7 separate regions of the Homo sapiens genome follow, and regions 1, 2, 3, 5, 6 and 7 are each linked to region 4. Evidence: promoter capture Hi-C in 16 types of primary human blood cells and fetal thymus (Javierre and others, 2016). All regions are on one chromosome and are shown on one strand. The core of a region is centred on a gene start or on the middle of the fragment in contact, and the rest is flanking DNA. Distances in the headings are between cores, read along the strand shown. Region 1 holds the start of LOC124902016 (a long non-coding RNA gene). Region 2 overlaps MTSS1 (MTSS I-BAR domain containing 1). Region 3 overlaps MTSS1 (MTSS I-BAR domain containing 1). Region 4 holds the start of ZNF572 (zinc finger protein 572). Region 5 overlaps MTSS1 (MTSS I-BAR domain containing 1). Region 6 overlaps MTSS1 (MTSS I-BAR domain containing 1). Region 7 overlaps MTSS1 (MTSS I-BAR domain containing 1).

Region 1 (3,901 bases), core at 218-2,717, 370 kb after region 4:
GATATGCTGAATCTCTAGACCTTCTGGATCAGAATCTACATTTTAGCACAATTTCCTGGTGATCCTTGTGTATACTGAAGTTTAATAAGTTGTGTCTTGAGCTCTCTTTTGAGATCCTAGGCCCAGGGTAGCAAATACAGAGTCTGCATCCTTCCACTGTCCTGCGGTTGTAGCAGACATTACTAGCTGATCTAGCCAATCCATTTTCCATCTAGCGCATAGCTGCCCACAGCACCCTCCACACAGTGCCCCAGGCATCCATACACCTGATCAGAATTAGCCCAAGAGATAAACTGATTTACCATCCTTGCCTTTGTCTATGAAGAGCTCATTCTAAAAAAGTAACTAACATAAAAAACAAGGAAACAGCTGTTTGCATAGGCCTTAAGTGTTGGGAATTAGGACCCCCATCATACCCCAGGGCAGTGGGAAGGAACACTCAGGCCCACTGCTTGAAAAGATGTCGGCAACCTGAACATGCACAATACAGTGGCGATAAACCAGACCCTACTGGTTCTCTGCAGTTGGGCAATGACCTTGTCGGAGGAGGCGAGGCCATGATATTGCTGGAGGAGGCGAGGCCATGATGTTACCCTGGCTCCAGTGCTCATCCATGGGACATGTGGTCAGCCCCTGTGTCCCACAATCCCATTGCCTTCTGGCAACTTCCTAACTGATGACTGAGCCACAGTCAGGTTTCAGTCATTCATTGGTAGTTATTCTTATCTGCATTTTGTTAGAAGAACACAGTTAATAAAGTGGGTGTGGGGAAGAAAACAGTGCAGGAGAAGGAGAACTGGAAGAGGAACCAGAGTGGCTTGAGTTATCTAGTAAAGTCTTCATTACATGATGTGACCAGCTCTCAGAGGGGCATCTAATACAGAGCAGTTTAGTTTAACCTCAGAAGGTCATCAGGGTGCTAGAATCATGTCCCATTTTCATGGTAATTGGGCAAGACTGGGAAAATGTTTTGGGAATACACATTTTATCTTCCACTTCCAGCAGTGGCTTCTAACCACTGAGGACTCTCCACGTTACCAATCTCTACTGACCTACCTCAAGCTTTGTAAAATCTTATTTACCGAACAAATTACATTTTTAAGTAATAATTAAGCCCCCCCTTTTCTGTAGAGATATATAATAACTGTTAACCTGGGGTCATTTTTATCGGGCTTTATATAATTCCAACAGAAAGCAAAGGACTGTGAGTGCTTAAGTTAGCCTGAGCAGTAAAGAGGCTTTTAGACCTACTGAGAATAGTTTTTGGATTCACATTACCACTGCTTGACCTGAGACTCGATTTGGGAGCTAGAAACTAAAACCAGTTATGCCCTTCCATTGAATAGATGGAGGCTGGGAGGCTCGGGCTTGTCTAGCTTGTAGGGACTCAAGGGCACTTTGGTCGTGTCACGGTGCTGCTTTCTCTCCTGCGCAAGCCTCATACTTGCTTTCTCTGTTGAATGGTAAAAGCCAGCCTCTTGTTTGCTATTCCGGGGTTAGAATTTCAATTCCTTTTTTAAAAACTCTGTTTAGATCAGAAACCATCCAGACACTCATTCAGAAACCATCTGGGGAAGGTATGACTTGAGATAGAAATTGAAGAGATAGAGAGGAGGAGAAGAAGATAGTATACGAGTTAGTTTAAATGACCCCAGATGAGTTTGGCCGGGAAATCAACTGCAGAATGCATCCTCTGTCCCTGGCCTGTATCCCTCAAGGGCCTTTGATAGAGTCTTGGCTTAGTTGCAGCCACTTTTCCTCTAGAACTTTAACTCAGTAAAGGTGTGCAGTAAAAATGGGGAAGAGGGATGAGGAGGAGCCAGGAGAGAATCGAGGAAGAGCAAATATTACGAGCGTAGAACGCGAAGCTTGGCATGTCTGCCTGGTTCCACTTACTCACGTTTGTTGAGCTCCTTCTATGTCTGAAGCTGTTTCTAAAACGTCAGTTTCTAGAAAACAGGATCCTGAATTCAGCTAAGCATGATTCCCAGGGCCATCCCTGGGAAGCTGTCCTGAAGATGCCTCCTGCTAAGACAGGTTGCGGAGGGGAGTCAGTGGCTGAAAGGGTGATTTCAGGATAGATTGTCCTGGCAAATAAGGAGGGGTCCTCTGCATGAATAAGCAGTGTACCCTGCCAAAGGAAGCTGGCAGGAGGTGATTCCTGCTGAAGCCTGACAGTACATGTCCACCCTGAACTCATGGCCTTGGATGCAGACCGGCCAACTGTACACAGTTGAGCGAGGAAGTGGCGACAGCACGGTTTGAATCTGGCTGATAAAACAGATGTTCGGGGGAAGGGCTCTTATTTTCTCCCAGTTATAGGATCGGGGGTGGGGGAAGAAAACCTAATTCCCTATCTGCCAAATGTTTCTGTTGGTAATGTCCTGGCAACAGTGAGATGCCCCCAAGAATGGAGTGGTTGAAAGTTCTAGCTATCGACTCAGCCCTGGATGTAAATTCTGAATTCTGTGTGACCTTGGGCAAGTTACTTAACCTCTCTGAGTACCCTTGGCCTCATCTGTAAAATGAGGATAATGATACCTACTTTTGGCGGGGTGCAGGGGCTTGTGCCTGTAGTCCCGGCACTTTGGGAGGCTGAGGCAGGTGGATCACTTGAGATCATGAGTTTGAGACCAGCCTGGCCAACACGGTGAAACCCCGTCTCTACTAAAAATACAAAAATTAGCTGGGCGTAGTTGTGGGTGCCTGTAATCCCAGAATCGCTTGAACCCAGGAGGCAGAGGTTGCAGTGAGCCAAGATCATGCCATTGTACTCCAGCCTGGGCCACAAGAGTGAAACTCTATCTCAAAAAAAAAAAAAAAAAACAAAAAACCAAACACAGAAAACACAAAAATTAGCTGGGCATGGTGGCACATGCCTGTAGTCCCAGCTACTTGGGAGGCTGAGGCACAAGAATCTCTTGAACCTGGGAAGCAGAAGTTGCAGTGAGCCAAGATCACACCACTGCACTCCCAGCACTCTAGCCTGGACAACAGAGTGAGACTCTGTCTCAAAAAAAAAAAAAAAAAAAAATGAGATACCTACTTTATAATGGTACCTATAAGAGGAGTATAATGAGATTTTAAAAAAATGAATACAACATTCCTGCAAGGGTTTGTCATGTTGCAAGCACTCAGTAAATGGGAGCTATTCCTAATAATATGAAAAACTGCAAGATTACCTCCTAAGAGATGATAAAGTCGCTATATTCTGGCATAGTTTGGGGATGTACAGAAACCTCTTAAAGGAATAAAGTAGCTCTTAGGCCAGTGACACATGCATGAAACCTGATTTTAGGTGCTAGCGGGTTCAAGGATAGATGTTTATCACAGGGAGTTCTGATCTCCAACGGGAGCCCAGCGCGAGGGCAGGGAGGGAGGCAGCGCGAGGGCAGGGAGGGAGGCAGCGAGAGGGCAGGGAGGGAGGCAGCGAGAGGGCAGGGAGGGAGGCAGTGCGAGGGCTGTCTCCGCAGAGTCCCAGCTTAGAGCCATCCCTTTGTCAGGGATAGATGTAGCAGGCTCTTACTCTGATCCCTAGAACACTAACTCCCTGATTCTGATTCCATATTCATCTGGCCACCTTCTGAATTACCTGACAACCCAAGAAGGCTGACTGGGAGATAATCCCTGATCCAGATACTGTGAGCATCTTATCTACCCGACAGTTAAATTTTGTGAACTAAGAAAATGACATGTGGTTTCTGCATCAGGCCACAGCTGCTTCGCTGGCAGGAGCTGGCGTCATCGAGTCGCTCAGACCTGGCTTCAGCAGGAGCATCTTTCTGTGCCCATGCAGCAGAGGCAGACCATGGCAATGGGGGGTTCATGGTGGCAGATGTCGGGGAGACAGCTGGCATTTCCCAGGTGACACCCCCACAGGGTGTTGCAACCAGACACCATT
Region 2 (3,898 bases), core at 23-2,522, 340 kb after region 4:
TTTGGAAAGGCCCCTGGTTCTTCCCAGATGGAGGGGGGTGGCCTTGTGGTGTGGTGTCTGGGAGAGAGAACCCTCCCCTCAGGCAGGCTGTGGCCTCTGTGTGTTACGATGGAAACTACCTGTCCAGCCTCCAGCAGGACAGGAGGCCACTTAACGTTGGAGGCACTTGGCTGTCTCACCAACCAGGGATGTGGGAACTCGTGTTTCAGGTCTGTTTTAGGGAGAGGTCAGATCTCGGGCTTCAGAGTTAGGTACCGCTATAGCTAAGTATCCAGCTCCAGAATTTCTTTTTTCTTTTTCTTTTCTTTTTTTTTTTTTTTTTTTTTGAGACGGAGTCATTCAGGCTGGAGTGCAGTGGCGTGATCTTGGCTCACTGCAAGCTCCACCTCTGGGTTAACGCCATTTTCCTGCCTCAGCCTCCCAAGTAGCTGGGACTACAGGTGCCCGCCACCACACCTGGCTAATTTTTTGTATTTTTTTTAGTAGAGACTGGGTTTCACCGTGTTAGCCAGCATGGTCTCCATCTCCTGACCTTGTGATCCGCCCGCCTCAGCCTCCCAAAGTGCTGGGATTACAGGTGTGAGCCACCGCGCCTGGCCATCTAGCTCCAGAATTTCTTAGCTGTGTAACTTTAAGTGGCTTAATCTCCTTAATTCGAGCCTTAGTTTTCTCATCTATAAAATGGGGGTGATGATAGTGCTTATGCACAGGGCTGTTGAAAGAATGAAGATGAATGAATGAATGAATGTGTACACAGAGCTTAGGCCTAGGCCTGGCTCATGAGTGCCCAGCACTTGTGAGCTCTCATGATTAACTCATTTCCCTCCTGCCCCAAGGACCCTCTTGGGAAATAAAACCTCCCTGAAGATACTTTGGGATCCTGTAAAATCCGTGTGTGTTACTTTCAGGGTCTGCTGTGGTGTAATGGAAGAAGTGCAGACTTCGGAGCTAGACACCACCTGGCTTTGAGTCCTAGGTCTACCCACCTATGGCAGGTTTCTCTTAGCCTCAGTTTCCCCATCTTTAAAATGAGGATGGGCAATGAAGAATTGCCTCAGAGGGTTGTTGCGAGGATTAGATGAAATTACACAAGGTACTTCTTGGAGTTCCTGGCTCACTGTAGGCATTTAATCCATGCAACTTATTATTTAGCTGACAAAATGCCTATAATTAGATGTTAGGGAAATTGCTGTCATCGATGGGGAAAGTTCCCCAATGGAGTTGGAACTGTTGACTCTGCTGTCCTGGCTTCTCCAAGTCCTGCCATCATTTTCTTCTGCCCCTTCCCAGAGCACCTGCTGTGGGGGCTGGTGGGAGCTCCAGGTTCCACAGCTGAGCCGTGGGGAGCAGAAGACAGAGCTTTCCTGCTAATAAGGATCATAAATGCCAGCCCTGGGCTGGGCAAGCATCCTGCTGCCGGTTCATATCACTGGATTTAGCATCCTGTGGCGGTGGTTTAATTGGAAGAGATAATTGGTGCCGTGTCCTGGGGAGTATGATCTGGGAGTCGGATGATAAGACTGACGCGGCTGATGTCTTGGAGCTCAGACTCGCAGCCTGGGATGGGAAGCACCCGTTCTCAGCAAACTTTTGGTTTCTGTTTGTATTACTGACCTGCTCTGTACTTTTCATCACTGCTAGTTTGTTGCTGTTGTTGTTGTTTTTGAGACAGGGTCTCCCTCTGTCGCCCAGGCTGGAGTGCAATGGCACGATCTCAGCTCACTGCAACCTCCATCTCCCGGGTTCAAGCGATATTCCTGCCTCAGCCACCTGAGTAGCTGGGATTACAGGCACATGCCACCACGCCTGGCTAACTTTTGTATTTTTAGTAGAGACGGGGTTTCACCTTGTTGGCCAGGCTGGTCTCTAACTCCTGACCTCAAGTAATCTGCCCACCTCGGCCTCCCAAAGTGTTGGGATTACAGGCGTGAGCCACCGCGACCAGTCACTGCTAGTTTTCTATCTGTAAGAGTTTTTATGGGAAATAGCAATGCCACAGTTTTCTTTCTAAAGCGCAGTTCACACTGTCTCCCTGTGCTTCTCTCCCGGACTCCCTATGGCCTGTGGAAGCTCAGGCTGACCTTTAAGGCCTTTCACCCTCCTAGCTGAGCTTCCTCTTCTTACATTACCCTTTCAGTGATCCCTGGGGGACCCCCCCGCCACCCCTGGCCATCTCCCAGGGCTGCTTAGTCTATGATCCCATCGTGTCTGCTCCATGAATTCTTCCTGACACCCTCCTCTACTTTCCCGGTCTTATATTGTCTCTGTCTCCTTGGCTGTGGCCCTGTGCTGTGGAGGAAGAGTTGAGAACAAGGGATTTGAAATCTGATAGCCTTAGTTTGAATCCTGGCCTCAACATATTTTCCCTTTGTGACTGTGGATCAGCAACTTAACCTGCGTGAGCCTTGGTCTCCTCCTTTATAGGATAGATGCCTGCCTTGAGGGTTGTGGAGAAGGTGAAATGTTGAGTACCTAATGCATGAAGTGGCACTCAGTCAGTGTTAGCGAATGTAACGATTATGCCCCAGTTTCTCACTGATAGCCAGCCCTCATCTTTTGAGTACCAACTTGATAACTAAATTGAACCAGGTTTTTAAACACTGTAAGATGATTCCAGTTTTTTAGATAGCTCAGAGGGCCGTGGGGACACCAGGGTCAGAGGCCAGAGGTACCAGGTTGCAGGGGAGGATAAGCACAGCCTTACCTTCTCTTTTGAGACCCTGGTGGCAGCCTTGGAAGCTTTTCTCGGTGCAAACTTTGGTGTGAGCCACACAGCTGCTGCCTGCTAAATGGGAATGTGCACAGGACTCGAGGAATGAAGCAATGTTGCGTGACAGGTTCGTGTCCAACCCCTGTGTGCAGGCTGGGCAGGGGCTGGGTGCGGGCTGCTGACTCACCAGCTGCAGTGAACAGGACCTGCCTTGGGAGACCTTTCCTAGTGTTGGGGCAGCGTATATCAGGCTCTGTGACCGTCACCATGGAGATGTGATTCTTGTTGCCTTTTCCTTTTGTCTGTTGCAGTAGAGGCTGGTGTGATGCCCCTAGGAAGAAACCTGGAACCCAGAGTCCCAGACAGAACTTGTAGCGGCCTGCTGATTGGTCCTCACTGCACCGTAATCATTTCTAACCACCCCATTCCCATGACCGGGTGCACCTCATTATCTCCTCCCAAGGGCAGGTTGAATGCCTCCCCACAAACCGCCTTGTTGAATGGAACCTTACTAGATCCTCATCCCACACTCTGCCCCCCTCCAGCCCAGTGGATAAGATTGCTATTTCTGGATTTAATGTTTCTCAAAATCCTTTTGACTGGAGCTACTTTGACTATAGGATCATGTTTGGTTTTTTTATTTTTATTTTGAAGCATGGGTCTCTCTAGGTTACCCAGGCTGGTCTTGAACTCCTGGGCTCAAGCTATCCTCCCACCTCAGCTTCCCGAGTAGCTGAGATTACAGATGCGTGCCACCATGCCTGGCTTATAGGATCATTTTTTAGCTCAAGCATCCTGGCAGAAAAGCTGGTGGTGGACTGGCCCAGGCCAGTGCTTTGTGTGTAGAATGTTCCCAAGAAAAGAACTGACGAAACACTAGAATGGCTCAGTGTGGTGAGAAATAATTCCACTCCTGGAAGACCTGCATACCTGCAACTTCCTGTCCCATAGCCCTTTGTATTCACTGTGCTGTTGACTTTGTCTTGTCCTTTCATTTATCCTCATTATGACCATCCTTTTCAACATGGTGCCATGGTTAAAAGACCTGGCCCTAGAGTTCTATTTGGGTTTGATTTGCAGCCTCTCCCTTTCAGTCTTCATCAGACTCTGCACAGTTTCCTGCTGCGTATAGTAGGTGTTCATTATGCTTAAACTAAAGTCACAGCCTACAGAAAATTTGACCCTGGA
Region 3 (4,016 bases), core at 503-3,002, 280 kb after region 4:
TAAATGCCATGGTCTCCAGATCTGGCATTAGGCATCACAGTCACTCAAGAAGTTCACTTTAAGGGACAGATTTCAAGGCCCTGCCACTCCCATGGAATCAGAATAACTGGGTGAGACCCAGGAATCTCCAATTTTGAAAAGCTTTCCAGGAGATGTTGCTCTCCATTGAGGTATGTTTGTGCTGTCCTGTAAAGCCTCTTGCCATCTTGCCATAACCCACCTGTCCGATGACATCTCCCCACCCATGGCCGGCAACTGCACCCACAAAGAACTGCTCACTGTTTTCTGAAACCCTTAAAACCCTTGATCCCTATCTGCTGGCACATGTGCATTCCAGGCCCAGAATGTCCTTTCCAGCCCTCCCCTTCTTCACCCTGTTTGTATGCTTGAGGATCTGCTGCTTGTCTCCCAGGAGTTTAAGAGCTGTATCACTTGTGAGACCTTTGTCTTCCCTCAGGAAGTAAACTGGGTCCTTGCTCAGGGCCTCGGGGGACATGCTGGGGTCAGAGGATTCCCCTAGCTGTGCTGTCACTATCTTCCCCACCAGATTGGAGACACCTCTAACAGGACCTGCTCCTTCCTGAGGAACTCACTTTCCCAGATGCTGAGTATCTGGCCTTCAGCAGGGTGCAGACCCATCTGCTGAATGAACGACTGCGTGCAAACAGTAGCTTCCACTTTTATGCAGCCCTCATGGATCCTGGTGGGAAGCCCGTCAGTTCTCGAGCAAGGGGCTGTTGGGATGGGGTCTTGGCAGGATTCCTCCCTGGAGTTCAGAATTTGAATCTTGGTGACCCCTCCCTGAGGTCAAGTCTCTGGTGCAAAGGACAACTGGGTAGAAGGCACTCACCCTGCTTCATGGATGGAGTGGAGGAGGGGAGGGAATCTTTCCTCTGAGGGGAGAAGGTGCTGGGTTGTTTGGGTTCCCAGCTGGGTTGTTTCCTGGCTCCAGCCAGACTGCTCTTGTTTGCTCCTGAGTTTTATTTTAACCAGATTGTTTAATTGAGACTTCACTAGCCTTTAACTTCTGGATTGCCTTTGGTGTTCAAGCCCAGAACTCTTTCGTGTAATTAGAGTCTTACTATTTCTACCTAGCAAACTTTTTTTTTTTCTTTTTAAAAAGATTGATGCATCCACATGTTATGGGGGCACATATGATACTTTGATAAATTGATATAATGTGTAAAGTTCGAATCATTTGAGAGGCCGAGGTGGGTGGATCACTTGATGTCAGGAGTTAGAGACCAGCCTGGTCAACATGGCGAGATCCTGGCTCTACTAAAAATACAAAAAAATTAGCTGAGCTTGGTGGCGGGCCTCTAATTCCAGCTACTCGGGAGGCTGAGGCATGACAATCACTTGAACTCAGGAGGCGGAGGTTGCAATGAGCCAAGATCATGCCACTGCACTCCAGCCTGGGTAATGGAGTGAGACTCTGTCTCAAAAAAAAAAAAAAAAAATCAGGGTAATTGGGATATCTATCACCTGAAATATTTGTCTTCTTATTACTACTTACCAAACTCTTTAGCCTCAAACTGAAAACAATTTTTTTTCAAATTAAAAACATCATATAAAAGGCCCTTCTTTTAGGTCTGGAACTGAAAATTCTTTGAATATTACCATAAAGGAATGTAGTCAAATTTCTTCATTTGATTAAAAATAAAAAGGTATATCAGCCGGATGCGGTGGCTCACGCCTGTAATCCCAGTGCTTTGGGAGGCAGGGGCCGGTGGATCACTTGAGGTCAGCAGTTCGAGACCAGCCTGGCCAATATGGTGAAACCCCATCTCTACTAAAAATACAAAAATTAGCTGGGTGTGGTGGCGGGCATCTGTAGTCCCAGCTACTTGGGAGGCTGAGACAGGAGAATCACTTGAACCTGGGAGGCGGAGGTTGCAGTGAACCAAGATCGTACCATTGTACTCCAGCCTGGGCAACAGAGCAAGACTTGGTCTCAAAAAAAAATAAACAACTCTTGAAACCATCTAAACTGTATATATGTGTATGTGTTTGTGTACATGTATGTACGTATGTGTATCCATATACTTTTTATATTGAGCACTTTTTATAATCTCAATCTTACATAAAGTACAAATAAAATCTATAAAAATGATTGCTATTTATAATAATAGGCAACATAGCTAAAAACTGTGGTTATTATGTAAGCATATCTTCAAGATAAATTTTCCAGCTCCTAAGCCCTCCTATACACAGATTTTAGAGCTGCCATTGCCCTAGTGGGAGGTGATGTAAAAAAAATATTGTTTTAAATGGGTTTGTAAATGTACAGTCTGCTTTTGGTCTCATCATTTTGGTGTTTTTCCACTTCAATTTGTCTTGCGTCATTTTAATTTGTTAGCACAATGTATTTAGTCATATACGTCTGCTATGAATAAAACATCTTTTTAAAAATGGCCCGGGCATGTGAAGTTTGTCTTACGATTCCCCATTTTTTTTAAAGCTGTCATTGTTTGGGGTGTGCTTTCTATGAAACTTCAGACTTTGTGTTGAGCCCAGGACAGTAGGGTGTCATGCATTTTTAGCATTTTTACAACTCATACTATACATAAGAACTAGAAATAACAAATGAATCTGTATATTTTTAAAGAGTGTTTTTATTTTATAAATTTAAAAAAATACCTTGTTTTTGATGTTTTTCAGTTGATGGAGTTATGGTTGCTTATGTGTTTGATTATTTTGACGGGCAAGTACGTATATTTAGGAGATTTGTAACCATGAGCCTAGCATTACTGCTGATAAAACGAATCCCTCCTTTCTAATCCCATTGCTCTTTTCTTGATGTAAAAACTGATGCCTGGCGACAGCACTGTTCCCCATTTGACAAGTGGCCTTTTATTATTGATCTTTGGTTGGGTAGCAGCAGTTGCCAGAGAGAATTGTTCATTGTGGTCAACCAGTGCTCCTGCCTCAGTCGTGTTTTGCTTTTAACCATGTCTTCCTGGAATGACACTTGAAAGGGCAGTCATCATGTGTTAGCCCAGAATGAACTCACCGGAATCCCACATTTACCAAAACATATCCTGGATCCTCAGGGCAGGATGTCACCAGAATTCTATAATCCTCCAGCAGGGACAGTGAGGGATATCAGAATTCCACACCCAAGCATGTGTGTCTGTCCTGCTCAGGATTGTCTTACCCCTAACAGAGAGAAAGTCTTGCTCCATTCAATGGGGTTTCCCCATTAGGCTTTAGTGTATTTCCCCAGATGATACTTGAATTACATCTGGATGTGTGTGTGCTGTTCCCTGTCTAACCTCGGCAGCCTTCATCAATGCCGGTGAATTATGCGATGGTGGTGGCGGCGGCGGGAGCAGCAGCAGTGGGGAGGAAGGTCCAAGCTTGGAGAGGATGTGTGTTTTTATGGGTGACTGAGTTGATTTGTGTGCAGCGTGGTTATTTGTGTTGTTAGGCAGTTTACATAATAAAGTGGTTTACTCAGCAGTTGCCCACTTCTAGCTAACAGAGCCACCGTGCATTTTGTATACAAGCACTGACAATTCTCCCCTCTTCTCCTCCCCCACCTCTTTCCATCCTAGTTCTTGCCTTTGCTTCCCATAGATTGGCTTTTTGTTTTGGCTTAATAACTAATACCCCACCCCATCCCCACTGCCACACACACATACCTTGTAGTCACTTTTGGTAAAATATTAACATTCATGAAAGAATGCAGTTATTTTAGTTCATGCAGATGAAGCGAAGAATTTTTTTTTTTTTTTTTTTTTGAGATGGAGTTTCACTCTCGTTGCCCAGGCTGGAGTGCAATGGTGCGATCTTGGCTCACTGGAACCTCCACCTCCCGGGTTCAAGCGACTGTCCTGCCTCATCCTCCCGAGTAGTTAGGATTACAGGCATGCGCCACCATGCCCAGCTAATTTTTGTATTTTTAGTAGAGATGGGGTTTCTCCATGTTGGTCAGGCTGGTCTCAAACTCCCGACCTCAGGTGATCCGCCTGCCTCAGCCTCCCAAAGTGCTGGGATTACAGGTGTGAGCCACC
Region 4 (4,052 bases), core at 1,104-3,603:
GCTCCATCACAATGATCACAGCCAAGTTAGAGATCAGAAACCCTGTGGAAGGAAATAAATTATGTTTGGAGGTATTTGTTAAAGCTTATTCTTCCTCCTTCCTTCCCAACCATTCCAACACAACAATAGGAGGCATAGAATGTTCCATGAACCATACCGAAAATAAGAAACACAACTTTTAGCAGCCCTTTTAGAAAATCTTATCTCAGATCTAAGTGTTTAGAATTAAGGGTTAACCCTGAAATAACAATGCAAAAAAGTAAATCTTCACATTAAAGGTCTGAGGATCAAGCTTCAAAGACAGAATACTAATCCTCATTGTCCACACGTAGCTTAGAAACACTTTTACTTTAAAAAGCAAAGTATTTTTTTTAAGACACCAATAATAAAACTTATAAAGACTTCAAGGAATCAATATGAAGGCATAAGCAGCAGCTAAAGAAAAAAAGCACCCTGTTTAGTTTCAAAAGAATAACTTGGTCTTGACAGAAGGAAACCTTTGAAGTCAATTTCAAAGGAAAGTTAGGATTTATATAACCAGTAAAGAGAAATTAGGACAAAGCCGAGGTGGAATAATTATAGCCAATAACCCTGCAATATAAAAAGGAGGCTAAAGAGGGACCTCTTCCTCCTTGCACTTAGTTCCTAAGTCTATCATATTCACAATATCCATTTCAGCCTAAACTTCGTCTTCTGGAGCCAACAATCACTAACCTATTTTAAGGGACTAGAAAATGTTCCATCCTGGCTAATGCGGTGAAACCCCATCTCTACTAAAAATACAAAAAATTAGCCGGGTGTGGTGGCGGGCGCCTGTGGTCCCAGCTACTCAGGGGGCTGAGGCAGGAGAATCGCTTGAACCCAGGAGGCAGAGGTTGCAGTGAGCCGAGATCGTGCCATTGCACCACTCCAGCCTGGGTGACAGAGCAAGACTCTGTCTCAACAAAAAAAAAGAAAAAAGAAAAAGAAAAAGAAGAAAATGTGATCTATCACAGGAAGGCAGTGACATATGGACTTTTGGCATCCATTTCAGAATATAAAGAGTATCATTATTTGGGAGAAAAATAAGGACGTAAAAGGATATACAAATGCACACATTTTAAAAACAAAAAATAGTATATGTACTTATATTGTATCTTCACCATTACTGCCTATTATGTGCCAGGTAGTGAATGAAATAATTTGCACACATTTGTCATTTAATTCTTACAGTAGCCCTCTGAAGTGTATGAACAACTACCAGCATTTTATAGGATGAGTTTGAAAGGTATTAAGAAACTTTCCTAAGGTCACCTAGAAAGTGGTAGAGCAGGACTGAGCTCCAAGTCTGTTTGGATGCTGACCTTTTTCACCCTCTGATCTATTATCGTAAACTAGAACAGGAAGCAGAGCTGGGCATAATCCCAAACTGCAAAGAATCCTCAGAGTCCCTTTATTTTAGAATATTTAGAATACTGGCATTTTAAAACAGAGGTCTACATTCCTAAACCTTGTTAACAAAGTGAGTCGACATTCCCTAAGCACACTCAGCAAGTGGGGATTTGTTCTAGAGAAACGTGAAACTAGTCTACATTACTAATATCCCCAGTGTTTGAGTTGGGGGGGAGAAAAAACCATACACCTGAATGCAAAAAAAGGAAGGGGGTGGAGTTGTTCGAATGGAGTTATATATTTTGCTGTCCTAAGTTACATATTGTTATCAAAGTATTTACAAAAGCAGCAAGAGTCTGGGCAACACATTACCATCTCCCCCATTTTCCCTACTAAAATACTATTAAATTTGGCAGCAAAGGAGCCCCCGGAACAGTGGCTCAGCAAAATGGTGGCAAATGCAAGACCATACAAGGCTGCCATTAAGATGTCTCTCCACGGGGAAGGAGTGTTTTCACTGTTCTAGAGCAACAATGTGATCAGAGTGGGGCCGTGCTTTGATCAGAAAGCCTTCAAAGAAAATGCACTGCCTGAAGCCTAGTTTTAAGAACCGCTGGCTGGTACAAGTTGGAGACGCTGGGGGGTGAAGTTCCAGGATACCAGACGGTCTCCGGCCGACAAGATCCCGTAAGGGACCCCGCGGACAAGGATGACGGTGGCCCGTCGGCGGGAGATGCTGGGCCTTCGCCCCTGGCAGCAGCGGGAACTCTCTCCCGGACGTCCACTGCAGCCTGGACGGGGCTGTTTCCACTCCTCTAGCCCGCAACCCTCGGCTCCCTTCCCCCCAAGAAGGAACTCACTGTTCTGGGTGCTACACCCAAGGCGCCCTGCACCCCCAGCGGTCCGGGAGGAAGGTACCCCCTCTCCCTCTGACCCCACCAACCCAGGGTCCTAAACTCTCAAACCCGGAAGGCAGAAACAGGAAGTTACCCTCATCTCCCCCGGCGGCTTTGCTGGGGCCGTTCTAGGAAACAGTGATGGCCCACTCTCGTTGATCTTAACCCTTAGGGTCCTGGACCAGAAGGAGCGTGGGGGTGGATTTCCTTTCCCTGTGCTGTGACCAGCCAACTGTGAACCTCATTTCTCTCACTTGTCAGGCGGCTTACGACAGGGGCCTGATTGGAGCTTATACTTTTCCTTGCCATCAGAATATCATCAGATTAATTATCATCACTATTAGAATCAAAATCAATCTAGTATTTTTCTTTTTTGAGACGGAGTCTCGCTGTTGCCTAGGCTGGAGTGCAGTGGCGCGATCTCGGCTCACTGCAAGCTCCGCCTCCTGGGTTCACGCCATCCTCCTGTCTCAGCCTCTCGAGTAGCTGGGACTACAGGTGCCTGCCACCATGCCCGGCTAATTTTTATATTTTTCGTAGAGACGGGGTTTCACCGGGTTAGCCAGGATGGTCTCGATCTCCTGACCTCGTGATCCGCCCACCTCGGCCTCCCAAAGTGCTGGGATTACAGGCGTGAGCCACCGCGCCCGGCCTCAATCTAGTATTTTTAAACACCTATTGTTTCTGTTCCCACCGCTATGAACATGGATATATATTTACTTACCTGTGAAAGTTAGAAAGCTAAGGCATCCATTCACATATAAAACAATTCGTTTACAAGGCACCCTTATTAACACCTAGAAAAGTAGTTAATCCCTCCTCTTTCATTACAGAGAAAATAGAAGCCAATCCCTTCATCTCACCTCTACCAAACAGAAATCTACTCAAGTCTGCACCCTGCCGTTTTCTTTCTTCCCTCCTGTTACAATACAGAGTCCCTCTGTGACCTTTTTTTTTTTTTTTTTTTTTTTTGTGATGGAGTTTCACTGTGTCACCAGTCTGGAGTGCAATGGCAGGATTTCGGCTCACTGCAACCTCTGCCTCCCGGGTTCAAGCAATTCTCCTGCCTCAGCCTCCCAAGTAGCTAGGACTACAGGTGTGCGCCACCATGCCCAGCTAATTTTTGCATTTTTAGTAGAGACTGGGTTTCACCATGTTGGCCAGGATGGTCTTGATCTCTTGACCTCATGATCTGCCCGCCTCAGCCTCCCAAAGTGCTGGGCTCTTTGGTATTTTAATAAGCCCTTTACTGGTACTCACTTTCCTACCTATCTTCTTGGAAACTTCGCACTACCAACTAAACTCTCCATCCCTCCACCCCCATCCCCAAATAGTCCCTCAGCTTTTCTTTTCTCTTTTTACTCACAATGTTTCCATTTCATCAATTTTCCACTAACCTTAACATTTCTCCTGCAACAACAACAACAAAAAAATCACTAGCATCACCAATGACCTCCATGATGTTAGTTAGTGCAACTGGTATTTTTAGTTCTCGGGTCCTTTTTCAGGAGGTTTGATATGGCTACGGACTCGTCTTCTAGAAACACTCTTTTGAGGTGACATCACATTCTCCTCCTTTTCTTCCAACATCTCTAGTCAGTCCTGTTAGTCTCTTTTCCAAGTCAGTCCCTCAAGATCATCCTCTCCTCTTATCACTGAATGTTCTCTGCCTAGGCAATCTCATCCACTCCCACATTTTCAAATACCACCTAGGCAGACAACTCAAAAATTTACTTCTCCAGCCCAAGCTACATGTCTGAGCTCTTCACTCATAACCAATGGTCT
Region 5 (3,896 bases), core at 416-2,915, 320 kb after region 4:
CAGCGCTTCTGTTGGCCTGTGTGTAGTTTGGCCACTGTCTGGGAATACCTTGTACCAATTGCTGTCTGTTAAAAGGATGAAAGATACAATGTTCGGAGACAGACCCTGGGTGACAATGCTCTTAGTCTTTTCCATATCTAGGAGGCTGCCGTAAGTTTGATAATTGAAAGATTCCAACCTGAAACAGCTCAGTGTTTTTCCCCAAGCACAAGAACATTAAGTCCTGACCTTGTGCCTTTCTATGACTCAACACAGAGAGAGCCTTGCGTCCTTTCTTTTGGTTGTCGTGCTGAGTCTATGATCTTTTCGAGGTCATAGCAGTAGGAACCTTAATGACTGAAGATGAGTATTGCAGGGATTCACATTAGTCCTGTGTTCTTTCTTGAGTAACAGTGGTCAGTAGGGTCATTACCATTAATGGAGCACCTTGAGGAGTAATTTGCCTGTGCCGGGAGCTTTTTGTGTACTCTGTCTTGGCTGACCCTCAAGACAGCCTTGTGAAGTAGGTATTGATGCCTGAATTGTATAGCCAGAGGTGCCAAGGCTCGCCAGGGTCATGTGATTGTCACGAAAGCTGGTCAGGAAGCATAGCTCCCATCTCAGCGCCCCCGACTCCATCGCTGCTCTGTGCTGGGGGTTTGTTCAGGGAAGGGCTGCTTCCTGCTGATAATGATGGACACCTCTCCTTAGAGGTTTCCATGCTTTGTACCACACAGGGAAAACTTTTACTGTGAAAGGCCACACAGTCAATATTTTAGGCTTTGCAGACTACCGTCTCTCTCACAACCACTCAACACTCCCATTGTAGAGCAAAAGCAGCCCTAGATAATAGATAAACAGATGGCCCTGGCTGTCTTTCAATAAAACTTTACTTACAGAAACAGGCAGTGGGCCGGATTTGGCCTGCTGCCATAGTTTGCCAGCTCTTGATTTAGGGTTTGGTCTAAATGGAAATGGTTATTGTTAATACTATTATTTTTGGAAAGTTTATGAAGGATGGCAGGTTGCCCACAACAGATAGAAAGGGAAACTCTCTGTTTTGGAGAAGATTAATCTGGATCCATTCCTACTTGGAGTATGTCTCATAGAGGCTGGATGTTGTAGAGCTCCTTGAGGGTAGTCCCGGGTGGACCCCATAGTACTCGATGAGTGCAGACCTGGGCCCAGTGGGCATTGGATAAAGATGGCATTTTCATCATGGCGTACTGATGGCCTTGTGGTGTCCATCTCACAGCAGTCCCCATGGCCTTGGATTCTCACATTTTCTCACTTACCTTTCCTTGGAACACCGTCTGGTCAGTATCTGGGGGGGGGCTGCTATTTGGGATGAAGACTCTTCCTATAATCCTGAGCCTGAGAGGAGAGAGTAGGGAAACGGCTGGACTTTCTTGGAGTCACTGTGCTTCCCACCAACTTTGATGTGGAGACCCCCAAGCCTTTCCAAGGTAATATATCTCTGGGAAATAGGGCTCCCTTTTACAAATGCTGGCTTTATCCCTCTACTAAGGAGCTGTGATGGGCTGCTTTGGGGGCCTGAGGAGTTAGGGGAGAGAGGGCAAAGTGAGCTTCCAGTGAGACGAAATTCATTGTTGATGTGGTGCTGCTTGGAGGATGTGAGGTTTTCTTAAGCAACTCCTTATTTTGTAGCCCACCCAAAACTTTTGTAACAGAAGAGAGCTAAAGTTAAACTGCACCCAAAGAGTCCATTGTTGGTGTGTTGAAATACTTAAAAAAAAAAATTCAAAAACACTAGGTAATAGTAACAACAAACCCTTTCACCGGATCACTCATCTGCTTCTGAACATCAACTCATAATCTTTGGAGCAACTCTGGTAGCTCCTTGGTATTCTTTTGCCCCAGTTTTTTCCTCTGTTAATAAAAGGCTTTGAAATGCTGGGATGGGGTGAGTCTTGCCACCTCTTGATTTCAGACATTAATAAAGAAGCTGATGGTCCATGCCCACCATAAATAGGATTGCAGAGGCTATAGAGGCTAAATCTGCTTTAGGCCTGCTGGTAAACTGTATTCCCCTTGCTACTCTTGAAACGCTAGGTTGATTGGAGACATTTGTTTTTAAGATTGAGTTCTCTCAGGACATGACCCCACTGTTGGTGATGGGTTGGATCACACAGCCCATGGGGACCTGTAGGTGGCTCCAGAGGTTCTTGTTCGGCCTCTGATTTTAGAGAGTTCTGGATTTTAATGCACATGACTTATACCTTGATCCTGTGTCCTGTTATCAAGGATACGTCTATATAGTCATTCAGGTATTTCAAGGAACTTGAATTGCCTTGCTTATTTTTATAGCTGACGAGCTGTAACAATTGAAGAAGTGAGAAATGATTTAATTCTTTTGAAATGAGCTAAAACATGATGGAAGAAATAGTAATATTTCAACATGCCACACATCTTTTTTTTTATATTAGAACATGCTTTATTGAGGATAAACACTGTTGTTAGCTAAAAGTACAAAGTTTTAGGATGAATAAGTTGTGGAGATCTATTGTATAGCATGGTGACTGTGGTTAATAAGAAGACTTGAAAATCTCTAAGAGATTAGATCTTAAATGCTCTCACTACAAAAAATATCTTAGTCGTTTTACAACATATACATTCATCAAAACATAGCATGTATACTGTTAACACATAACAATTTTAATTTCTCAGCTATACCCTTAATAAAGCTAAGGGGAAAAAAGAAACTTTGATATCTAACAAATTCCACCCAAAAGAATCGTATTTCATAAAAAAACTCTAAATCTAGATGTATCCAAACATGAATTACTCAGCACATACATAAGACATAAATAGTATGAAAATGTACTTTGAAGTAGTTTTTGAAAATGTAGGTAAATTCCTTTTATTTAAAGAGGAATGACTGCGTGGTGGCTCATGCTTGTAATCCCAGAACTTTGGGAAGCTGAGGCGGGAGGATCACTTGAGCCTAGGAGTTTGAAAGCAGCCTGGTCAACATAGTGAGACCCCATCTCTACAAAAGGAAAATTTAAAAATTAGCTGGGTATGGTGGCACATGCCTGTAGTCCCAGCTACTCAGGAGGCTGAGGTGGGAGGACCATTTGAGGCCAGAGTTCGATGGGAGGACCATTTGAGGCCAGAGTTCGAGGCTGCAGTGAGCCATGGTAGAGCCAGTGTACTCCAGCCTGGGTGACAGAGGAAGACTGTCAGAGAGAGAGAGAGAGAAAGATGTAATGGTGCAGATTTTTTTTTTTTAACCATGAGGAAAATAGCTTTTAGCTGCAGGTTATACAACATGTTTATTTAGTGAAAAATAGGTGATACAAATTTTCCTTCAAGATATTAAGCAGTAGCTTTCTAATGGCTCTGTTCTCTGTGGATGGTTTAAAACTCACGGGCATTTTGTCTTTTAAAGCACTTGAGAAACCCTGCTTTCATCACATCCAAATTCTTCTGTCTTCTCAGTAATAGTTTAAGTTTCTAGGGATCTTGCTATTGCATTTCTTACAAGTTGTCTAAATTATGAAACTGTGGATATAACTTGCTTTTAAAAGTCAGTAGAAGTGTAAGAGATGCCTTATCTAAAGATAATTTGAGAAGCAGCAAGACTCAGTTATTCTTTGTGACCCAGGAAAATATTTTTAGATTTTTTAAATGAATGAATGGTAAATAAATGACTCTATGGTCATTTATTTACCAAGAGATGCTGATTAGATGGCAGTTATATTCATTATTACATGTTCTCCCGATTGTGAAGTGTTCAGTATGTAACTGGCTAAAGATGAGATGGCACAGCCATTGAAATAAAAGACTAAGGCTTATAATCCCATTTATAATCCCAGCCTTGCTAATATTCCAGTGAGATGGACAGAAGAAAACACAAAGGAATTTGATTCCTGGTTTCCCAAAGGAGCCTAGAC
Region 6 (4,117 bases), core at 1,262-3,761, 310 kb after region 4:
TTAAAAGTGTTCATTTCATGTTTGGAGTGAGCTGTACTGTAAATGCTGGGCTGTGTGGTTGTATCAGTTTGTGCAAACAGTAGGAGCCAAGGACGTTTTATTCACCCCTGAGTTAGCATCATTTGTCACACTATCTCAGCGGAGCGAGACGGTGGACACCTACACAGTTTCTCAGGCTGTGCTTTCTACTAATTGTTTGTTTAATTAGAAAATGAGTAATTATTTATCCAGAAAATAGAATCCAAAACCGTGGGGCTGAAATCTTCTCTAATTGCACCATGTGATCATGCTTTTCTGAGGATTGTATTTTTGGTGTGTGTAGGTGGTAGGGGAGTCTTATTTTGTGGCTGGTGTTTACTGAGAGATCCATCTTTTGCTCAGCACCTCAAGTGGAACAAAATGAAGTCAGTGGCAATCAACCTGCTTTGTAAAAAAGTTTAAAAGCCAGGTACAATCAGAATATCTGTCTAAACAGTGAGGTTTGTATTCATTCAATAGCTTTGGGGACCTGCTACATGTAGGACATCATTGAAGGTAAACTAATGTGTGGGAAAGGGCCCCTGTGTACAAGAAGGTGGTAATGGTGGTTTGCACTTCACGGGAACAAAGGGAGTCAAACCTTGACAAGCTTTGTGGAATTTGCTGGGCAAAAGCTTGTTTGGGGTGAGATCCTGTCGATATAGCTAAGAATGGAGTTTGGGTTCTGGGTATAGGTCAGCTTTTTGATGGGTGACCAAACACACTGAGGTCTTCATTGTGGCTAACTGCTGATGCCGTTTCATCTTTCTTTTCTGGTCCCGTTCAGAGGTATGAATTTTCCCTTCCTAATAGCCGAGTCTGGCATGCTGTCGAAGAGTGTCACGGGTAGGTGCTAAGTTGACCTTGTAGGTCTGTTTTCCATCCTGACACAAAGGGGCTACTGGGAAGTTTTTAGCCAGCTATGATGACAGGGAGGGAGGAGTTCACCTGTGGACCTGGTAGGGGCATGAACGAGAAAGGCGGGTTTTCAAACGGAGCTAGGACAGGATGAATTCCTGCCGTAGATGTGAGCTGAGGTATGGAAACCTGGCTTTGTCTGTCTGTTGGATGAAGCAGATCTGGTGACACCTCCTGTCCACAGCATCACTCTCCATGAACACACATTGGTAGGGTTAGGGCCTGAACAAAACATGCCTAACAAGACAGGGCACGTGGAACTGATTGTGCCTGTGAGAAAACAAAAAGCGAATCACCACCTTCCTACAGCCCACACGTGTGGCCGCTTGCGCTGTGTCCTCCTCAGTTGCTGGCCGGGCCTGTTGGCATCTTGGTTTTAGAGCCCAGCGGTGGAGGTGAAAGCCTTGGAGACTTTTTTTGTTTTTGTTTTGAGACAGGGTGGCGTCCCCCAGGCTGGAGTGCAGTGGCGCGATCATGGCTCACTGCAGCCTTGACCCTCTGAACTCAGGTGATCTTCCCACCTCAGTGGTCCCCCAGACCCCTGCCCTAGTAGCTGGGACTACAGGCCCACACCACCATGTCTGGCTAATTTTTTTTTATAGAGAAAGGGTCTCGCCATATTGCCCAGGCTGGTCTTGAACTCCTGGGCTCAAGCAATCCTCCCACCCTGGCCTCCCAAAGTGTTGGGATTATAGGTGTGAGCCACTGTGCCTGGCCGCTTGGAGACTTTGAATCTTAGCTCGGAGTGCAGTAGCTGTGTGACCTTGCCAACTGCAGATGCTTTTTAAGTCCCAGTTTCCTCACATGTCTGAAATGATAATAATACCTCCTCCCGGAGTTGTTGTTATTTATTTATTTTTTATTTTTTGAGACGGAGTTTCGCTTCTGTTGCCCAGGCTGGAGTGCAATGGTGTGATCTCAGCTCACCACAACCTTTGCTTCCCGGGTTCAAGCAATTCTCCTGCCTCAGCCTCCTGAGTAGCTGGGATTACAGGCATGCACCACCATGCCCGGCTAATTTTGTATTTTTAGTAGAGATGGGGTTTATCCATGTTGGTCAGGATGGTCTCAAACTCCCAACCTCAGGTGATCCACCCGCCTCGGCCTCCCGAAGTGCTGGGATTACAGGCATGAGCCACCACGCCCGGCCTATTGTTATTTTTTTTTTGTGGTAAAATATATGTAACATCAAAGTTACCATTTTAACCATTTCTGTCTTGGCCTTCTCTCAGAAACATGTCGCGCTTTCACAGTTGCCCTGAGAGGGTGCCAGAATCCATGCACAGCCCCAGGCCTGGTCCCCTGGTGAGCTCTGCATCCTCTGGGGAGAGCGCCTCCCCATGAGGGTCATGCCTTCTCCTCAAACTCACCATCTCAAATCAAATCCTAAGATGGGGGGAAACCCAGGGCGTGGCCATCTCCTCTCCCCTCCACCTGAATCCCAGCCTGCTTCTTAGATCTGTTCTTCTTTTCTTTTTATATAACTAGTGAGACTAGATTTGTCTTGGGTTCATTTGAACCTTTCCCTGCTTCTTAAATGGGAATTTTAATTTCTGTCCTTATTCCCGCTGGCTTCTTCAACTCTCCCCCTAAACTCCTCCATTGACCTCCTCCTCTCCCTACTGCTGATGGATTTTCTTTCCTTAGTTCAGATCTGATCACCCCTCTTCCCTCTTTGAAAACTCCCCAGGACCCCCATTAATGGTCACATGATAAAGCTCACTATCTGCCAACTGGTATGCTAACCCTCGGCCAGCTGGGCTCACTCTGCGCTGATGACCCCTCCTCATTCTCCCTCCACCCTCCCTATCCCATGACCAACACCCTATCACAGGGGCCCTTCATCTTTTTGGACCTCAGACCCCTTCAAGGAACAGACAGCTATGGACTGCCTCCCTAGAAAGGTACATAGTCACTCAGTTTTCCATTCAGTTTCAAGGGGTCTGTGGATCCCGGTGGCGAACTTAGCCGGATGCCCATGCTAGACCATGCATTCTAAGCCTCTTTGTCGTGGCTTGTGCCATTTTCTCTTATATCTTTGTTCCTTTGTCTTTGTTCCTGTGTTTCCATCAGTATTTTTCTTCAGTGCACTTTCCTGTCAGAGTTAATTTTTCCCTCTATCGTGCTTGTACAGCACATTACCAGAACATCTATTTAGCATTTGTATTAGAGTTGATAGTTTGCATGGCTGCCTTGCCCTTGTGTTCCTGAGCACAGTGCCTTGCATGTGTTATACACACAGTCATGTGTCCATTTATTCATTGATTCAACAGTTTCTTAAGCTCTTGTGAGCTAGCCACAGTGCTTGTCCTGGGGCTGTGCTAGGAAATATGATCCAGTCCCCACCCCAGGGAGATCAGTTTAATGGAGACTGTAAACAGATAAGCAGAATGTTATCATGCAGTGAGACTATTGAACATTTACTGTGTGCTGGGTGCTAATGAGCACATTGTATTAATATGTGTGTTGTCTCTGAATTCTCACAACAGCTTTGTGAAATAGGGTCTAATATTTTATGGATGAAACAATGGAGACCACAGCTAGGTTAAGTAACTTGCCCAAAATCGTGAGACTCATCAGCAGTAGAGTGGAACTTCAACACTGTAGACTGTCTCTGGGGGCCAGATTTTTTTTTTTTTTTTTTTGAGAAGGAGTTTCACTCGTATTGCCCAGGCTGGAGTGCAATGGCACAATCTCAGCTCACCACAACCTCCGCCTCCGGGGTTCAAGTGATTCTCCTGCCTCAGCCTCCTGAGTAGCTTGGATTACAGGCATGCGCCACCACGCCTGGCTAATTTTGTATTTTTAGTAGAGACGGGGTTTCTCCATGTTGGTCAGGATGGTCTCGAACTCCCAACCTCAGGTGATCCACCCGCCTCGGCCTCCCAAAGTGCTGGGATTACAGGCATGAGCCACTGTGCCCGGCCTTGGGGGCCAGATTTTTTTTATAGCTAGGCTGTCTGAGATCAGCCTGGCCAAGCCAGGGCCCTGTGAGAGGCCAGGAGAAAGAAGAGAGGAGAAAAGCCAGGTGGAAATCACCAAAGTCTTCCTGGAAGAGTATGAAGAATTGGGATGAAGACAAAGTAACCAGGGGCCCAAAGGTGAGACTGAGCGAGTGGGTGAACTGTGGATGAAATGTTACGAACTCAGGTCTGCGGAGATGGAAAAAGGAGAGAAGGCA
Region 7 (4,071 bases), core at 1,007-3,506, 270 kb after region 4:
AGTGATGCCAGGTATGTGACCATTAGCCAGGTTCTCCCATCACCTGTCTGGTCTGGAATTTATGTCACTCACTGTCTGAATGAAGGCCACCCCGGTCTTCCTCACCTGTCCCAAGTCCCCACCCTGGGTCTTGCCCTGGAAGGCTGCCCTTGCCCACCTGGGCCACTTCGCCCATGTCCTGCCTGGAGGAGTGGCCAGCATAAATGTGTCACTCCAGTGTCCCTTGGAGAGAGCTGGTCAGTGTTCCCTGCCTCCTTTTGTGTCAGCTGCACCCCCTACCAGAAGTACTTTTCCTTCCTCCCTTCATTTCTCAGTCCTTGTTCCACAGTCCAAAGGGGAAGCCCTCAGGCTTATAGACAGCAAACTGTATGATGTGATAAGTTGGGGAGTAGGTGCAGCTAAACCAGAGGGTAGGTGGGAAGGGGGTGTGTCAGAGAATGTTCCAGAAGAAGTGTCACAGCTGGGTAGTGACAGCTGAATAGGAGTTTTCAATATTGCTGAATCCCCCTGGAGATTTGAAGAGAAGCAGCCACAGGGTGTGGTGTGTGTGGGGAGTGTGGGTGAGATCACGTGTTCAGGGAAGCCCCATCTCTCACCCAAGGAAGTGATGGAGGGAGTCCTCTTTACACGCTTGTAAACAAACTGGCTTTCTCTTCCCGTTTCTTTAATAGGGACCTTTTCCTTTCTTAGAACCCAGTGTAATCTGAGTTGTATTTTCAACGAACGCACTGCCAAGGGCTCCAGAAACTCCTGGCTCTCCTCTCTGAAGAAATTCAGGGGGCTCCTGGAGGAGGTGCGCCTTCTCATTTTGCCTTGTGACTTTGGACTTGGCAGAAGCCGGGGCGTGGCGGGAGTTTTGTTTTCTTTGATTTGGGTCTGTCTGGAACGTTGTGAAGCCTTTATGTGTTCTCAGGTGAAATCCACAGTGGGGTCTGTGTTGAATTGTTTTCACGGCTCTGGGAGTGCATTCCGAGGGATTTCCTCAAATGGGGACAGAGCTCAGCCAGCAACCTCAGGAATGAACTTTCTGGGGACTTCTTGGTGGGTGGATGCAGATGCAAAAACCAAGGACAGTTGGGGAATTGCTTTCTAAAGGGCTCTAAGAGCTTCCAGTGTCTTGGGTTGCGGGTTTCTTTTGAAACTTGAGTATGGTCTCCTTTATGTAGTCTTGCTGTCCAAAAGGCAGGACTTTTTCTCTGCTGCCTTTCAATCTTTCTAGTTACCTTCTTCCTCCTTTCTTACTTCCTCTAAGCTTGAATTATTATAGTAAAACTGCTCTCAGGTGGGTAGAAACTTCTTTTTTCCTTGAAAGAAACTTACAAAAATATCTGGAACAACCCAACATCACTTTGCCTTTAAATTTTAATGACATTTACTCACTTTTTTTTTTTTTCATTTCTCAACAAGGAGGTTTTTGTCTTCTGTTCTTAGAAGTTGATTTTTTTTCTTTTTTTAGAATCTATTAAATTATATATTGCCTAAAACAGGTGGGCCTGACTCTCTCTGATAGACTGTCAAGTGTCATTAAGTCAGCAGCAAGCTACTTTGGGCAACCTTCTGGCTGGGTGGATGTTCGTAGGTGGGGAGCTGTTAGCTGTACCCCTTGACTAGAAAGGGGACCCCTCCTTTTGTTGCTAATTTGGTAAAGACTGAAATGACGCTCCAAGTGGGGGCAGATAAGAAGTTTCTTCAGTGGTTTGAGTAGTCGTCTTTTTCAGGCACACTCATCTCAGGGTTGAGTACTCCACCCTGCCATTTGCTTAGCAGCAGCAGAGAAATTGTCTGGCACTGAACACCCAGCTGCCTTTGCCTTGGTCTGTTTCTGCCTAACCCTGGTTTACTAATAGGGAGATGCAGATGCTTCCCATGTTGGCTGGTTCCACACCAGGTACTCTAAAAGGGGGGTTCCAGTCTGGATGGACAGTCTGACTTAGACTTTACAGTCTGTCCCCCACACATCCTAAAGGAGATTACTGAGAGCCTGTGGCCACTTGGATCCCTCATATCAAATGTTTGTTGAGCACTTCCAGTGTGCTGGGCACTGCACCGAGCACTTTCTGTATATGACCTCATTCGTTCCTCCTCTCAGCCCTGTGAAGATGTGACTTAAACCCATGCAGAGGTCAAATAACTTGCCCAGTGTCGCATAGCAAATGGGAGAGCTAAGGTTCAATCCAAGAGATTGGGCTTCTGTACGTGCAATCTTTATTCATCTCCTTCATTCTTTCAATGTTCAATAATTGATGGTATTGGTAATGGTGATGGAATTATTTGTTTTGGTTATCATCATTATAAGGGAATGATCCCTGAGAAGTGAAATGATTTCCCCTAGTCCATGACTGGCAGGGCTGTGACTAGACCTCAGGACCCAGTGCTCCCTGCCCAGGCCACTGGCCAGTTCTGCATGTTCTCGATGAACATGCCTCACCTTTTCCTTTGGCTTTGTTTCTTTGAGACAGGGTCTTGCTCTGTTGCCCAGGCTGGAGTGCGGTGGCACAATCACAGCTCACTGCAGCTTCGATCTCCCGGGCTCAAGGGATTCTCCCACCTCAGCCTCCTGAGTAGCTAGGACTACAGGCATGTGCCACAGCACCCAGCTAGGTTTTTTTTTTTTTCTTTTGAGATGGAGTCTCGCTCTTTCGCCTAGGCTGGAGTGCAGTGGTGCGATCTCGGCTCAATGCAACCTCCACTTTCCGGGTTCAAGCAATTCTCTGCTTCAGCCTCCCGAGTAGCTGGGATTACAGGTGCCTGCTACCACGCCCAGCTAATTTTTGTATTTTTAGTAGAGATGGGTTTCACCATCTTGGCCAGGCTGGTCTTGAACTCCTGACCTCCTCATCCACCTGCCTCCTAAAATGCTGGGATTACAGGCGTGAGCTACCGTGCCTGGCCTGGTGTTTTTTTTTTGTTTGTTTGTTTGTTTGTTTTTTTTTTTGTATTTTTAGTAGAAATGGGGTCTCGCCATGTTGTCTGGGCTGGTCTTGAACTCCTGGGCTCAAGTGATCCTCCTGCCTCAGCTTCCCAAAGTGCTAGGATTACAGGTGTGAGCCACTGCCCCTGGCCCACCTTTTTCTTAAGAAATACTTTGATCGTCTTAATAATATTTCTCCAGGGCTCCCTGGATGGGAGTGTTTGGTGTTTGGGAGAGGAGGGTCTGGCTCTTTGGTCCTTCTTCCTTGTGTAGCCGAGAGATGGTGGCACCTTTGCCTAGAAGTAGGTGAGCAGTGTTTCTGAATGCTCAGATTTCTCAGAAAGCTTTTCATCGTGTCTTGTGGCTCAGAAAGAGAAGGAATGGTCGGACGAAGCTGCTATTGGTTGGTTGAGCCTTTGTGTTCTTAGAGGTGCCAACTGCTGTCCCTCTGGACAGAGATCTCCAGTGGCCATCCTGAGGACTCTGATCTTGGCCCTCATCTCTTTAATTGGATGTAGGTGTACAAGGGGTGTTCTTATCTGGACTGGATTAAAAAAATGGTATGTATGTTGGGTGTCATAATTGGAGTCCCCACTATGTCTTGATGGGCCTTGAATGATAGCCTGAGCTCTCACAAGTTTTCATTTGACATAAATTAATATACAGTTCTGCTCTTGGGTGGAAGTAACCCCCAGGGCACACACTTGGGATGGAGGTCATGTCGTGACAAGACCCTCACACAGGTGTTGGTTGACAGTAGCTCAGGTGTAGCTGCCAAAGGGCCTCTGCCAGGAGCCAGCCAGACACGATTCTTGCCCGGCTGTTGCTTAGTTTCCCATAGGGGCAAATTGCCACTTAGAGGAATAAATCCAGAAACCTGTGCTTGAGCCAAGCAGGTCTCCAATGCATGAAGGCAGAACTGATGAATGTGGTGTAGCAGCATGCGTGAAACAGACTTTAGAGTTCGGGTGGATTGTAAATTCATGGTGCTGTTGTTGCCAGAACCTCTAATTTGATCTTACGTTTTAAAAAATGCAATGACTTTATTGTTTTCATTAAAATGATACATGACCCTTATAAAGAAAACTCACAAGACTCCAGCCATAAAGGAAAGTACAAAGGAGAAAGCAATACATTGGTCCAGATTTTAACTCCCAGAA

What was found. The method cuts DNA at HindIII sites, captures the fragments that hold promoters and counts their contacts. A CHiCAGO score of 5 or more calls a contact.
Region 1: a contact is called between a fragment that was not itself captured here and the fragment with the promoter of ZNF572 in region 4, in 10 of 17 cell types (naive B cells, erythroblasts, fetal thymus and 7 more). The highest score is 10.5, in naive B cells.
Region 2: a contact is called between a fragment that was not itself captured here and the fragment with the promoter of ZNF572 in region 4, in 4 of 17 cell types (fetal thymus, monocytes, total B cells and 1 more). The highest score is 7.2, in fetal thymus.
Region 3: a contact is called between a fragment that was not itself captured here and the fragment with the promoter of ZNF572 in region 4, in 1 of 17 cell types (naive B cells). The highest score is 6.1, in naive B cells.
Region 5: a contact is called between a fragment that was not itself captured here and the fragment with the promoter of ZNF572 in region 4, in 6 of 17 cell types (fetal thymus, naive B cells, megakaryocytes and 3 more). The highest score is 9.4, in fetal thymus.
Region 6: a contact is called between a fragment that was not itself captured here and the fragment with the promoter of ZNF572 in region 4, in 8 of 17 cell types (naive B cells, total B cells, M1 macrophages and 5 more). The highest score is 8.9, in naive B cells.
Region 7: a contact is called between a fragment that was not itself captured here and the fragment with the promoter of ZNF572 in region 4, in 6 of 17 cell types (megakaryocytes, total B cells, M1 macrophages and 3 more). The highest score is 8.2, in megakaryocytes.

What each region holds. Positions count from the first base shown.
Region 1 is chr8:124,605,097-124,608,997 of GRCh38, reverse strand. All of the region lies in intron 3 of MTSS1 (MTSS I-BAR domain containing 1), which reads left to right. LOC124902016 (a long non-coding RNA gene) reads right to left here and starts at 2,261. Exons shown (of 2, transcript XR_007061088.1): 1 at 1,901-2,261. RefSeq lists enhancers at 1,316-1,665, 3,573-3,642. The HindIII fragment of the contact is 806 bases long and covers 1,065-1,870 here.
Region 2 is chr8:124,625,934-124,629,831 of GRCh38, reverse strand. The region is part of intron 3 of MTSS1 (MTSS I-BAR domain containing 1); the gene reads left to right. Among named protein-coding and RNA genes, the nearest start is that of NDUFB9, 89 kb to the right of the region's middle. RefSeq lists enhancers at 1-24, 184-233, 1,407-1,456, 1,487-1,546, 2,355-3,554. The HindIII fragment of the contact is 2,938 bases long and covers 1-2,741 here.
Region 3 is chr8:124,689,474-124,693,489 of GRCh38, reverse strand. All of the region lies in intron 3 of MTSS1 (MTSS I-BAR domain containing 1), which reads left to right. Among named protein-coding and RNA genes, the nearest start is that of MTSS1, 37 kb to the left of the region's middle. The HindIII fragment of the contact is 3,218 bases long and covers 144-3,361 here.
Region 4 is chr8:124,971,596-124,975,647 of GRCh38, reverse strand. It overlaps ZNF572 (zinc finger protein 572), which reads right to left and starts at 2,353. Exons shown (of 3, transcript NM_152412.3): 1 at 2,232-2,353; 2 at 1-42. The coding sequence starts at 7. RefSeq lists an enhancer at 2,251-2,410. The HindIII fragment of the contact is 4,233 bases long and covers 295-4,052 here.
Region 5 is chr8:124,646,128-124,650,023 of GRCh38, reverse strand. The region is part of intron 3 of MTSS1 (MTSS I-BAR domain containing 1); the gene reads left to right. Among named protein-coding and RNA genes, the nearest start is that of MTSS1, 80 kb to the left of the region's middle. The HindIII fragment of the contact is 5,497 bases long and covers 1-3,896 here.
Region 6 is chr8:124,665,332-124,669,448 of GRCh38, reverse strand. All of the region lies in intron 3 of MTSS1 (MTSS I-BAR domain containing 1), which reads left to right. Among named protein-coding and RNA genes, the nearest start is that of MTSS1, 61 kb to the left of the region's middle. RefSeq lists a silencer at 807-1,101. The HindIII fragment of the contact is 3,711 bases long and covers 656-4,117 here.
Region 7 is chr8:124,706,257-124,710,327 of GRCh38, reverse strand. All of the region lies in intron 1 of MTSS1 (MTSS I-BAR domain containing 1), which reads left to right. Among named protein-coding and RNA genes, the nearest start is that of MTSS1, 20 kb to the left of the region's middle. The HindIII fragment of the contact is 2,003 bases long and covers 1,255-3,257 here.